2 separate regions of the Homo sapiens genome follow, and region 1 is linked to region 2. Evidence: promoter capture Hi-C in 16 types of primary human blood cells and fetal thymus (Javierre and others, 2016). All regions are on one chromosome and are shown on one strand. Each heading gives the region's core, a stretch centred on a gene start or on the middle of the fragment in contact. The rest is flanking DNA. Distances are from core to core; before and after follow the strand shown. Region 1 holds the start of KRABD3 (KRAB domain containing 3). Region 2 holds the start of ZNF425 (zinc finger protein 425).

Region 1 (6,710 bases), core at 279-2,778, 590 kb after region 2:
TTCAGGAGTGAGAAAAATGTAAGACATTTTATATAACTGAAAGTATCCACTTCTAAAATATCCTTGCTGAAATAAATTTTAAAAGTTCTGCTTCAGGAAGAACATTGAACCCAGAAGGAAGAAGAAAGAGGCAAGAAAAAAGAGTGAACAAAGATAGTGGTAAGCACATTGGTAAATCTAAACAGCATAGATTGTATAAAACAAAAACAATGACTTCAAATATCAGGAGAGAGTCTTAAAAACAAGATGTAACTAAAAAGAACAATAATTACACACAAGACAGAAGGGGAAGAGTGTGATTAAACTCATATTCAAAAAGCTTTCTATCATTTGCGAGAAGATCAGAAGTAGTAATATTAGATTCTATTAAACCAAATATGTGTGTAAAATTACAGAGTAACCCCCAAATGAATAAAAAAGGAAAGCATAACTTTCAAATCAGTAGATTCATGATTATGATAGAGATTGTCAGACTGGATTCAGCAGCAACAACAAAATCTAGCTACATGCTCTTATATGACACACATCTGAAACATAAATATACACAAAGTTTGAAAGTAAAAGGACAGGAAAAGATATATCAAAGAAATACTTGCCAAAATAAAGTTAGTGTAGCTGCAGCAATATCAAACAAAATGGATTATAGACAAAGACTATTATTAGGGATAGTGTTACTTTCTAATAATAGAATGAACAATTCTCCAGGAAAATACTACAATTCTAAATTTGTAAGCACACAGCCTCCAAACACATGAAGCGAAAATTCTCACAAATTCAGGGAGAAATTGACAAATGCACAAACTTGATATGAGATTTTAACACCTCTTTAGTAACTGATAGTTCCAAATGCAAAAAGATGATAAACTATAGAAGGCATAAACCACATGATTGATAAGCTTGATTTTACAGCTCTAACTAGATCCTACACCAATATTAGAATATATGTACTCTTTTAGGCAAACATGGAACATTTTCAAACATCTATTGCACACTTGGCCACAAAGCAGTCTCAGAAAATTCTAAAAAATCAACATCACTTACTACATTCTCTGACTATAAGGCAAAACTCAAAAACAAAATAACTCATAAAAAGATTCGTATTTGGAAATTAAAAAGTACTTTTAAATAATCTCATGGATGGAAAAAGAAATAATAATGAAAATCAGAAAATATTTTAAAGTTGCAGCCATTTTCACATGGAGGACTGGCCAGCACAATTTGCCTTTAGATTCATTTGGGAAAAGTGCCGACTAGTTCACCAAAAGTCAATTCACAGAATGACCAGATAGCCAAAAGCCAAATATGGTAAAAGCTAAACCACTGAATATCAACTTGCTAAACAACCAATCTGAATTATTGAAATTTTTTTTTTTTTTTTTTGAGACAGGGTCTTGCTCTGTCACCCAGGCTGGAGTGCTGTGGTGTGATCTTGGCTCACTGCAACCCCCCTCTGCCTCCTGGGCTCAAGAGATTCTCCCACCTCAGCCTTCCAAGCAGCTGGGACTACAGGGGTACACCACTGCACCTGGCTAATTTTTGCATTTTTTGTAGAGATGGGGTTTCATCATGTTGCCTAGGCTGGTTTGGAACTCCCAGGCCCAAGCAATTCACCAGCCTTGGCCTCCCAAAGTGCTGGGATTACAGGTGTGAGCCACCGTGCCTGGCCCCAGCCAAGGAATTTTTAAAGATGTGTTTCAGCTCCACTCCTGCCTTTGTCTGTGTCCAGAGCCATCCAATAAACCTGGTTCAGGACAGGTCTTCACAACTATTTTTTAACGCACACACACGGGCTGAGGTAAATACAGGTCTACAGGGTCAAAGGCGCAACTAAAATTTGGGGGATAGGGGTGCCAGGAAGTGTCTCCATAATTTAAATAATTGGCCATGCAGCAAATTTCATGTTGGTGAACTGCTTTTAGCGACTGATGGTCCACAAATGGGGCAGGAAGCCTAGCCAGGAAGTGGACGTTTGAGTCAAAGAGGTGCCAAGAATCTGCACAGCTTAAAACAAAGGTGCATCTTACTTGGATAGAGATTTCTTTCTACAGGTGTTTAAGTTTAAGGCAGGGGTCCCCAGTCCCTGGGCTATGGACCAGTACCAGTCCTGGCCTGTTAGGAGCTGGGCAGTGCAGCAGGAGGTGAGCTGCGGGCAAGCCAGGGAAAGCTTTATCTGTAGTTACAGCCACTCCCCCTTGCTCGCATTACCCCTGAGCTCTGCCTCCTGTCAGATCTGCAGGTGCTGGATTCTCATAGGAGCCAGAACCCTGTTGTGAATGCGGGATCCAGGTTGCGGGCTCCTTAGGAGAATCTAATGCCTGGTGATCTGAGTTGGAACAGTTTCATCCCAAAACAACCCCCCTCCCAGTCCATGCAAAAATTCCCTTCCACAAAACCGGGCTCTGGCCCAAAAGGTTGGGGACCCCTGATTTAGGGGGTTTTAACGTTTAGGGATCCCGGGCCGGAGGGTGGGCGGTGGAGAGGAGCTGGGAGCAGGAACACATTACTGTAAGGAGCCCGCCTCACCTCGGCACGGAGGTGGGACCCGGCCTAAAGCCCAGGAGGCGACTTACCCTGAGGGCTGTGGCCTGTAGGGCTCTTGAAAAGTTGGACTTTTAAGTTTTCCCTTTCCGCGAGGTGGGGCCTTGTGATATCTTCAAATCCTTGTTCAGCAGGCTGCGCACACGCCGGTCCTGTGTCTAAGGTGTCTCGGGTATGACCGAGGGGGCTTTGCCCGAGTGGGCGTGCGCCTTTCCTCGGAGGCCGGGACGAGGGGTTGTCGGCATCGTACCCGAGTCCGTGATCATGGCCGGCGCGGCTGCAAGGGCCAGCCCCGGGCGACTGGGCGAGGAATTCCCTTTCCTTCCCTCCGATATTGCCCAGGCAGAGCGCTGTCTGGGCCGCAAGGTCTGGACGGGGCTTCCAAACTCAGAGCAGAGTCTCCTCTGCGTGGGACCACAGCCTCCCCTTCCCCTCCAAGCTTCTGTCTGGCACAGCAGGCTTAGCCCCGCAGGCCCCCTTCCAGCAGCCTTCTATAAAAATGACGGGGTCCTTCTCCAGACAGGAAAACCAGGCTCGCTGCGCCTCGCCCGCACCCCCGGAGCGCTCTCGCAGCGCCCGCCCAGACCAGGCCTTCGAACTCGTGAAGCGCAGGGGGAGGCAGAGGAGAGTGGGCCGCGCTTCCTTCCCGCATCACACGTTTATTTGAGGCCTACTATGTGCCAGGAACAACTGGGGTTACCACCCCAGCAAACAGGCACGCAAAATGTGACACGAAGGTAGGTCATGGCTGCGGCGAGCGGGGGCGCGGGCGAAAGACGTGAGGATGTACGGGGGCCTGGCAGCTGCTCTGTCCCACCCACGCCCGGCCGGACCCTCGACCCCTTTCACTCCAGGTCGGGTTTCCCCGACCGCGGCCTCTGGGAAAGATGGGTCCCTCTTCATCCCCACCATCAGCCCCTGGCACATGGGACGCGCTGAGTGGTGGCTGCGGGAATGAATGAGTGATAAGCGGCGCGTACCCGCGGGCTTGCACGCCCACAGCCGCCCCGGCTGGTCTCGGCGCGCAACCTCTACCCGCAGCTGGGGGCGGGGACGAGGGGAGGGGGCGGGGACGAGGCCCGAGCCAGGTCCGCCCCGCCCTGTCTCCGCCCCCCGCTTCCGAGCCGGCGCCGCGGCGCCTTCTGGGAAGTGTAGTCCGCGTCTGCGCCGGCCGGCCGGGCCGCCGAAGCCGGGGGCTCCGGGCGGAAACGGCACCACCCACCAAGGGATGCGAGGCGCTCGGGGCGGGCTCAACGAGGCCGGGGGCGGGCCCGGGCGCGCCCACCCCCGCCCCTCCCCCTCGGCCCAGGCCCCCGGCCCCGCCTTCTCCTGCGCGGACCTGGGCCGCCGCCGACGAGGGTCGCGTGCGCCCGCGCCAGGGCCCGCGCCGGAAACCGAGGAGTGGCGGGGAGGCTGAGCCCGGGGATGGCGCGCCAGGTAAGGCAGGCGGACGCGCGGACCCCTCGGCGCAGTGCGGCCCCGAAGGCGGTAGGGCGAGAAAGAGCTGGGACCCCCCCGCAACTTCGGGATCGGCTGGGTGAGGCTGGGCAGGCCTGATGCTCAGGGGTTCGTGCCGGGAAGTTCAGGTCCTCGGACAACCTCTCTCCAGCTCTCCGCCGCCGGTACCCACGGCCCAGTCTCCACCTGGGGAAACCCCCTTGGCGTGGCTTGTTTCGTTACAAGTTATCCTGGTAGAGTGGGCATGAAGGCCTCGGAGGCAGTGAGTAAATCTCATACTTCTGTTCTTGGTGGAATCCTGGATCCCGGGGGCTGGGGACGTGGAAATGGGGAGAAACAAAGATAGAACAAACCCCAAGTTTTGTCTTGGGAAGCCTGCAGGTAAGGCGTTTAGATCTGAGAACTGGAGGGAGAGCCCCAGGCCGTGACAGCCTGGGCACCGTTTGGGCTAGGTTGTGTGTGGGCTGTGACGATGCTGGGAAACTCTGGTGCTGATATCAGTGAGGTATCAGGTATCTGGTGCTGATACCAGCAACTGCTCCACGTTCTTCTGGATGGGCACCTGGAGCCAGTTCTGCAACCGTGGTGGCTCCTGAGCTTTGGCCAGTCCGAGGCAGCCATGGATGGGGGGCAGCGTGTGACTAGGCAGAGCAAACACTGTGCCAGGCCCTTGGCGTCATTAGTGCCCCCAAGCATTTGGGGAGAAGGGAGAGGCTAGGCAAATTGGATGTTGTTGGGCAGGGACAGTCAAGTGTCCTTTTCAGGTCTGGCTGCACAGTTAAGTAGCCTAGGGACACCCTGGTTCAGACATGCCCATGGCCCCATCCTAAGGCCTCCTCATACCACAGTTTCCTGTTCTGTAAAGTGAGGAGTTTGGGCCATTGACCTTTCAGATCTGATGAGGGGAATATCCTCACACTACGTAGCTTCATGGAGAAGGTGGCCAGGAGTGACCTTGGGGAGTGGTAGGTCACTGTAAGGTGGAGAGGAGCAGGGAGGGTTCCCAGAAGCCCAGGGCAATGTGAGCACAGCCTCCAGGTTGAGAGGTCCTGTGGCAGGGTCTGATCAGGGAGCCCGAGCCTGAGGCCCACTGGGAGAGCAGGTCTAGGTTGGGAAGGACTGTGAGAGAGGGGCAGGTCCAGCAGGCACTGAAGCTGCAGTTTTTGTGCTGGGCTAGTGACACGGTGGAAGGGTGATGTTAGGAGGACCAGTGTGCAGCTATGAGCTAGGAGGCTGCCCAGTTACAAGAGTCCTGGGTCAGCCCAGAAAGCTTTTCTCCATTGGTTGGGGGAAGGAGGTGAAGTGGGGCCCGAGGAGGAAGGCCGGTGGTGTGTGGGCAGAGCCAGCCAGTGGTGGCCTTCCTCCTCCCGAAGATGAGTTTTGTAGCCCAGGTGTTTGCACACTCACACTTGCTCACTCCCTCACACACAAAACCCTCACTCTTTGCTTTTTCTGGGGAGAGGGAGGCCACTGGCAGAAGCGCCTACCCTGGCCACAGTCAGTTCCCATTCTCATTTTCTAAGAATTTTATCACAAAACAGTTTGTCTTGAGGCTGAGATGGTGAGAGGCCTGGAAAGCATCTCTTACAGATTCCTGGAAGAGCTGGGATATATTTAGTCTGGAGCGAGAGAGACACCGGTGGTCAGGAGCAGTATGTGGAAGAGCTCAGCTGGCAGGCTCAGACCTGCAAGCGGGCATTAGGCAGACAGGTCTGGCTGCAGTATTACTAATCATAGCACTTAATATTCATAGTCCCCGCATTTGTTCTAGGCACTATTCCTGTATTTGTTTTGTCTTCACAATACCTCTATGAGGTAGGTTGTTATGATCCCAGTATTACAGATGAGTTCACTGAGGCCCAAATAGGTTAGGTTTGGCTGAGGTCTCATAACTAGTATGAAACAAGGCAGGGATTGGAATTCTGGCAGCCTGGCTCCTGAGGCTAGGCCCCAGTCACCGTGCTCTGCCCCGGTCTCTGGGTCCGGAACCTCTTAATGGCCACATCAGGTCAGCAGTGGTACCAGTGCAACCAACATAGCTGGTATCATGTTCTTACCTAGAGCTCAGACCTGCCTTGCCAGCTCTGTGTTGAGCCATCAGAATGTCATGTGGGAACCCTCTGCCTGCCATGAACCAAAATTCCAGACTCCCAGAAGGAAAGCAGGGGTGTGGCACACACCACGTCATTTGCTCAGCCTAGGCACCTTGAGCCACTCCCATCATTTAGGGAATGGTGGGAAGCCTCCTGACACCTAAATACCTGGAAGCCAGCCTGAGCCCTCCTGGCAAGCAGGCCTTCCTAAGGACAGCGGTCTAGGGCTGCTCTGCACGCTCTTCTGCATAGACCCTGATGTTGGCTACATTTTCTCTGTTCCAAGATGCTAGGAAGAAATGTAAATAACTCTTTGAGAGAAGTTTTGGAGGGTGTCTGAGACTGTTCCTGAGAGGGAGTGACCATACCTGGGCCAGAGCCACAGAGGTTTGCTCAGGGAGAGTCTGCACATCGAGGCAGGAGGCAAAGGCTGCAGCATCTCACTGCCCATCAGCCTCTGGGCCTCCGGGCCTCAGGCAGGCAGTCACGGGAGGGGCTGCCCCTTGCCAGGGGTGTAGATGCAGCCTGGCCAGAGGGGAGCACTGGTAAGTGTGACTGCATGGGACAAGTTATCAGCTGTTCAGGGAGAACAGGCAGAGAGCCCGGCAGTAAGTGGACAAC
Region 2 (7,244 bases), core at 20-2,519:
GAGATTCCCAATCACTTAAAGAGGAGAGAAAAAAAGAAAGCCTGGCTGTAGAAACAAAGCTTGGAGAAATCAGAAAAGAATCTGTACCTGCCAAAGGAGGGTGGGGAAAAGGAGTGGGAAGCAAAAGGGAAGAATCAAATGCAAATAAGGAGCATTACATTCCTAAGATTATAAAATTTCATTGGGGGCACAAGAAAAACTTGCACACTTAAGCAAGTTATACTTAACTGAATGTAACAGGGTTTCTTGGATTAAGCCTCAGGATACGCCTTTCAAACTCTAAAACCGGTGCTCAAATTTTCAATACTACATTACAATACTACAGCATTTACGGTAAATTCGATTTACGCTAACCACCCAATTCATTTTAAGTTTTCTGTCCTTTCCTAGAGGGAGCGGTCTCCAATTTCTCTCAGTTCCAGCTTTCCTTCTCCTTTTTCTCATCTGCTTAACACTGATGTGCTTCTCTGAAACTACCTTCAGCAGGAGAGCACGGGCCCCAGAGAGACCCCGAGGTTCAGAGCCCCGACACTGAAGGCAGGGACAGCGTTGTTGATCTGAGCCTACAACAGGCCGAGAAACAGATCTTTCCCACCCGGATTCTTTCTCCCAAACCAACTTTTATTTATGTATTAAACAGACGGGGTCTGGCTGTTGCCCAGGCTGGAGGGCAGTGGCTATTCACAGGCGCGATCCCACTAACGATCAGCACTGGGGTTTTGCCCTGCTCGGTTTCCGAGCTGGGCCGGTTCCCCCTCCCTGGGGAACCTGGTGGTCCCCGCTCCCGAGAGGTCACCACACAGATGCAGAACTCAGAGGCACCGCGCGACGGACCTAGCGCATATACAGCGCAGAGCTCCCGGGCTCAAGCGCTGCTCCCGCCTCAGCCTTCCGAGTGGCCGGGGCCACAGACGCGCGCGGCCAAGCCCGGCCAGACCAGCTTTTCCCCAGGTCAATTCCAGAACAGCACACGCAGCAAGACTGCACCTTCTCCAGCCCAGCCCGGAGCTCAGTCCGTGGGCCACTGCCAACCCCCAGGCCCAGGCCCCGGCCGCCCCACTCCCTGGACGCGGACCCCAATCCAGCTGCGACAGGGACCCGAGTTTCGACAGAGCCTGCATCCTCCACCGGCCCTTCTTACCGAAGCCGGCTCGGCCATGGCGGTTCCGCACGAACCGGCCCTGCCTGGCACGGCCTCCCCTCCGCTCCGCCCCAACCCAACTCCCAGGTACAGCCCTGCTGGCCCCCAAAGGCAGAGCCGGCCGGGCGCGGTGCATGCTGGGACTCGGCGCTCGGAAGCGGAAGCCGCTCCGCCCCATAGCGCCCCCTGCGGGCGGGAGGAGCGGCGCCGCCAGAGGGAGTCGGTCCTCAGAGGAGGGGCCCGGGCACCCTCCGTGCGGGCCGCAGCACGCCGGTCTTTGAGGGACCCTTGGACTCCCGGATCTGCATGCGAGGGATGCGGTCGAAGACGAGATGAGGGAGCTGACGGGAGGGGAAACGGAGGGGCAGGTGAACATGGAGAGAGCAGGAACAGGGAGAGAGTAGGGACAGCGACTGGGAGACGCGCTCCACAGAAACCCGGACTGAGAGGCAGCGAGAGGGTGAGAGTCCGGTGCTGTTCCTTCCAAAGCTGCCCCCAAGTCAGGGATGAGCTCGAGGGTTTCGTTTGTGAGGGGGTCCCGGGAATCCAGCGAGGCCGGGTAGGTGGTGGGGGGCGCGCGGTGGCCCGGGGTGTCCGTCCCGCCGGGGGCGCGGAGGCCGTGTGGGCCCCGGGCATGTCCCGTCGGGGACGCGGAGGAGGGGTCCGCCCACCACGTCCGGTCCCCGTGGGTGCAGCGCCCTTCTGGGCTCCCCGAGCGTCCACACTCCCTCCTTGGCAGAGAAAGGCCTCGGGCAGAGACCCCATGCGGAAGCCACCCCGGCCTCGGGGCCGCCTGCGGGGACTCAGGGTCGCCCAGGGATGCGGGCCGGGCACCCCTAGCCCCCGGCGGGAGACTGTGACAGAGCGGGAGAAGACGGAGGAGGCCATGACACAGGGCGTGAGAAACACGAAGACGCAAAAACGGGAGAGGTGGGAAGACGCAGAAGGGGAAACCAGGGAGAGACAGAAAGGAGAGAGAGGGCAAGGAAGGGGGTGGCGACTGTCCCCAGAAAATCAACCTCGCATTCTGTCCTAGTCATGTTTTAGGTGTCAGGCTAAAGTAACAAATGAAAAGTGTGTAGTTAGAAAGGATGTCCATGAGAAAGTAGTCCCTGCATAGGCTGAGGAGCGTGTGCACATCTGTATTTGTCCCGGAATCGTGAAATGTAGATGCACCTTACTGATTAAAGGGTTAAAAAAAAAAAACCTTACATTAAAACTAACGTTTCGGATGGGCGCGGTGCCTCACGCCTGTAATCCCAGCACTTTGGGAGGCGGAGGCGGGCGGATCACGAGGTCAGGAGAGCGAGACCATCCTGGCTAACGGCGAAACCCCGTCTCTACTAAAAATACAAAAAAAAAAAAAAAAAAAATAGCCGAGCGTTGTGGCGGGCGCCTGTAGTCCCAGCTCCTAGGGAGGCTGAGTCGGGAGAGTGGCGTGAACCCGGGAGGCGGAGCTTGCAGTGAGCCGAGATCGCGCCACTGCACTCCAGCCTGGGCGACAGAGGGAGACTCCATCTCAAAAAAACCAAAAACAAACAAACAAAAAAACTAACGTTTCTTTGGGTGTAAAGTTCTATGAATTTTCACATATGTATGTATACGTGTAGTAACCACTGTAACCAGGATACGGAAGAGCCCTGTCCCACCCTGAAACTCCTTGTGCTGCCATTCTCTTCTGTGCTTCATTTGCTTTATGGTCACTCCCTCCGACACCTGGATCCTTGGCAAGGACTGATCTGCTCTTGAAACCTAGTTTTCTCTTTTTAGAAATGGTATATAAATGGAATCATACAGTATGATATAACCTTTTGTGACTGGCTCCTCAAAAGCGTAATGCTTTTGTGATTCATCCATGTTTACGAAGAGTCAAACTGTAAAATATTTAGAAGTTTATTCTGAGCCAAATATGAGTGAGGAAGGCCAAGGTACTGTCTGAAGAGGTCCTAAGAACATGTATCCAAGGTGGTTGGGTTACAGCTTGATTTTACACGTTTTGGGAAGACTTAAGACATCAGTCAATACATGTAAAGTGTACACTGGTTCTGTCAGGAAAGGCGGGACAACTCCAAGCGGTGCTTACAGGTCACAGGCGGATTCAGCGATTTTCTGATTGGCAATTGGCTATCTGAAGACCAGGTTCATAGAAAGGAGTGTCTGGGTTAAGATAAGGGGTTGTGGAGACCAAGATTCTTAGGATGTCTCATAGTGACTGTCTTTAGATGGCAAAAATTTCCTATTTAAACCTTTAAAAGGTGCTAGATTCTCTGGCCGGGCGCAGTAGCTCACGTCTGTAATCCCAGCACTTTGGGAGGCTGAGGCAGTAGGATTGCCTGAGCACAGGAGTTGAAGACCAGCCTGGGCAACATGGCGAAACCCCATCTCTACAGAAAATACAAGATTTTGTCAGCACAGTGGCAAAGACGTTAATCTCAGCTATTTGGGAGGCAGAGGTGGGAGGATTACTTGAGCCTGGGAGGCGAAGGTTGCAGTGAGCACAGATTGTGCTGACACTACAGCCTGGGTGAGAGAGGAAGACAGAGGGAGACTCTGTCTCAAAAAAATAAAATAAAATAAAATAAAATTATATATATATATATATTGTTTGTTTGTTGGGTTTTTTCCAGACGTAGTCTTGCTCTGTTGCCTAGGCTGGAGTAGAGTGGTGTGATCTTGGCTCACTGCAACCTCCGCCTCCCAGGTTCAAGCGATTCTCCTGCCTCAGCCTCCCAAGTAGTTGGGATTACAGGTATGTGCCACCACATTGGGCTAATTTTTGTATTCTTAGTAGAGATGGGGTTTCACCATGTTGGCCAGGCTAGTCTTCAACTCTTGACCTCGTGATCCACCTACCTCGGCCTCCCAAAGTGCTGGGATTACAGGCATGAGCCACTGTGCCTGGCCCTATATTTTCATATAAATATATAATATATACTGCAAAGAAGCATATTTGGGGATAAAATATTTTGATTTCCTTCTTTGTCATGCAATGTTATGCCAGAGTCAGGTTGGAAACTAAGCGGTTATATAGGGTTAAATAAAACCCTTCTGGTGAGATTTTTATAGTTTGTAGGGCATGATTTCCTATGTCCCTTAGTTAGAAATTTGGACAAGAAAGGAAAAAAGGTCACAATTTAGTTGGTATCCATATCATTGTGTGTGAAAACAGTTTATTTTATTTATTTTTTATTGTTATTTTTTTGAGACGGAGTCTTGCTCTGTTGCCCAGGCTAGAGTGCAGTGGCTCGATCTTGGCTCACTGCAACCTCCACCTCCCAGGTTCAAATGATTCTCCTGTTTCAGCCTCCCGAGTAGCTGGGACTACAGGTGCATCCCACCACACCCAGGTAATTTTTATATTTCTAGTAGACACAGGGTTTCACCATATTGGTCAGGCTGTTCTCCAACTCCTGACCTCAGGTGATCCACCCACCTCGGCCTCCCAAAGCGCTGGGATTACAGGCATGAGCCACTGCGCCTGGCCTACAACAGTTTTATTTTAATTGCTGATAGTATTCCATGTTATGATATACTGAAGAGTATTTATCCATTGAAGGATATTTGTATTTTTTCCGTTTTATTATTTTTTATACTTATTTGTTTATTTATTTATTTATTTTTTGAGATGGAGTTTTGCTCTTGTTGCCCAGTCTGGAGTGCAATGGAGTAATCTCAGCTCACCGCAACCTCCGCCTCCCAGGTTCAAGCGATTCTCCTGCCTCAGCCTCCCTAGTAACTGGGATTACAGGCATGTGCCACCACGCCTGGCTATTTTGTATTTTTGGTAGAGACGGGGTTTCTCCATGTTGGTCAGGCTGGTCTCGAACTCCCAACCTCAGGTGATCTGCCTGCCTCAGCCTCCCAAAGTACTGAGATTACAGGCATGAGCCACTGCACCCGGCCTATTTATTTATTTTTGAGATGGAGTCTCACTCTGTTGCCCAGGCTGGAGTGCAGTGGCATGATCTCGGCTCACTGCAACCTCCACCTCTGGGGTTCAAGCGACTCCCCCACCTCAGCCTCCTGAGTAGGTGGGATTACAGGTGCACACCACCCCACCTGGCTAATTTTTGTATTTTTAGTAGAGAAGGGGTTTCACCATGTTGGCCAGGCTGGTTTCAAACTCCTAACCTCAAGTGATCCGCCTGCCTTGGCCTCCCAAAGTGCTGGGATGACAGGAATGAGCAACTGTGCCCAGCCTTTTCCAAGTTTTGGAATTCTGAATAGAGCTGCTATAAACATTTGCATACAGGTTTTTGTGTGAAAATAAATTTTTATTTCTTTAAGGTAGATACCCAGGAGTGGGACTGCTGAGTCACGGTAAATATGTATATTTAATTTTACAAGGAACTAGCAAACCATTTTTAAGAGTGACTGTACTATTATGTGTTCCCCTTGTGAACGCATGAGAGTTCAGTTGGCCCACGTTCTTTATTTGGTATTTTTAGCATTTAAAAAAACCGTTAGACATTCTAATCAATGGTGGTGTTGCTGAAACACCAGGGGTTTGGTCTAGGTGCTGCTGTTTGTGGCTCAGAAAGCCAATCATGACAACAACAAGTGTTGCCAACGAAGAAGGCTTTAATTGGGTGTTACTGCTGAGGAGATGGGAGATGGGAGATGGGAGATCAGTCTCAAATCCATCTCCCTGACAGGCTAAAATGAGCGGCTTCTATTGCTGGGAGGAAATGTAACCATATGTGGAAAAACATGAATTGGTTAGGGGTAAGGAAGAGGGTTTGGTCAACAGGAAGCAGGTGGTGGGTTAGGCAATCATGATGGGTGAGGGGTCTGACTTTCATTGTCCAAATTCAGTGATCCTGTGAGTTTCAACTGGTTAATACTATCTGGGAGGCCTGATGGTTGCTTTCCTGAGAAAGGAACTCAGATAAGACAAATGTAACTGTCTCAAGTTTTAAGACTAAAAGGATCAGTTACTGTGTTTATTCAAAGAAACCATAAACATCAGTTCTATAGGGCAATTGGGTCTGTTTCAGTGTAGGGGTATCTCAATGTAGTTTTTATTTGGATTTCCCTAGTTGCTAATGATACAAAAAATTCTTATTACGTGCTAAATTGCCAACTTCTAGTTAAGTTTTTGTTCTTGCTCCTTGTCCATTTTTCAATTGCATTTTTCTCAGGTTGATAAATATGGACTTTTTATTAAGGAAAGATTTTACTATGGGCAATTCTTTTAACATATTAGAACAGGCTGGGTGTGGTGGCTCACACCTGTAATCCCAGCAATTTGGGAGGCAGAGGCTGATGGATCACGAGATCAGGAGATTGAGACAATCCTGGCCAATACGGTGAAACCCCATCTCTACTACAAATACAGAAATTAGCTGGGTGTGGTGGCGGACGCCTGTAGTCCCAGCTACTCGGGAGGCTGAGGCAGGAGAATTGCTTAAACCTTGGAGGCGTTGGTTGCAGTGAGCCAAGATCGGGCCACTGCACTCCAGCCTGGGCAACAAGAGTGAGACTCTGCCTCAAAAACAAAACAAAACAAACAAACAAAAAACATATGCAGAACAATGTAATAAGCCCCAGCCATAATCCAGCTTTGGAAACATTTAAAAATATATATTTTACTTAGCATTTCTATTGAATTTGAAGTAGCGGGGAGGGTTTCCTGTTTTAGCTTAGTCTATTATCCTAGTGGAAAATTCTTTGCTTTTGACACTTTTAAACAGTTTTAGACATTTTAAATATGTTCACACCTTCTTTGATAGCTACGCAGCATACCAATTTACCACAATTTATTCATCCAGTCCTCTACTAGACGTTTTGTTTATAGTCAAATTTTAGTTTATAGTCAAAAAGCATCAAGTATTGCTTTTGATGAATCTTACATTTGCAAATATATTTATAGAATACGTTCCTAGAAAAATATTGCTTGATCAAAAGGTCTACTTATTTATAATCGATACACTACTAAGTTGCTCAGAAGAGGTTATATCAATTTATTACTCCACCGACTTCCTTATATTCTCTCTCTCTTTTTTTTTTTTTTTTTTGAGACAGAGTCTTGCTCTGTCCCCCAGGCTGTAGTGCAATGCTGTGATCTTGGCTCACTGCAACCTCCACCTCCCAGGTTCAACTG

The links. Contacts are between HindIII fragments. The CHiCAGO score rates a contact against its expected background, and 5 or more counts as called.
Region 1: a contact is called between a fragment that was not itself captured here and the fragment with the promoter of ZNF425 in region 2, in 1 of 17 cell types (total B cells). The highest score is 5.5, in total B cells.

The regions. Positions count from the first base shown.
Region 1 is chr7:149,711,092-149,717,801 of GRCh38, forward strand. It overlaps KRABD3 (KRAB domain containing 3), which reads left to right and starts at 3,860. Exons shown (of 17, transcript NM_001290187.2): 1 at 3,860-3,975. The coding sequence starts at 3,964. RefSeq lists silencers at 2,387-2,681, 3,508-3,947 and enhancers at 3,013-3,512, 4,150-4,782. The HindIII fragment of the contact is 1,268 bases long and covers 895-2,162 here.
Region 2 is chr7:149,125,055-149,132,298 of GRCh38, forward strand. It overlaps ZNF425 (zinc finger protein 425), which reads right to left and starts at 1,270. Exons shown (of 4, transcript NM_001001661.3): 1 at 1,142-1,270. The coding sequence starts at 1,159. It also overlaps the pseudogene RN7SL521P and a transcript of ZNF398 not described here. RefSeq lists enhancers at 1-185, 433-984, 985-1,536, 2,200-2,249 and silencers at 695-868, 1,600-2,039. The HindIII fragment of the contact is 7,753 bases long and covers 58-7,244 here.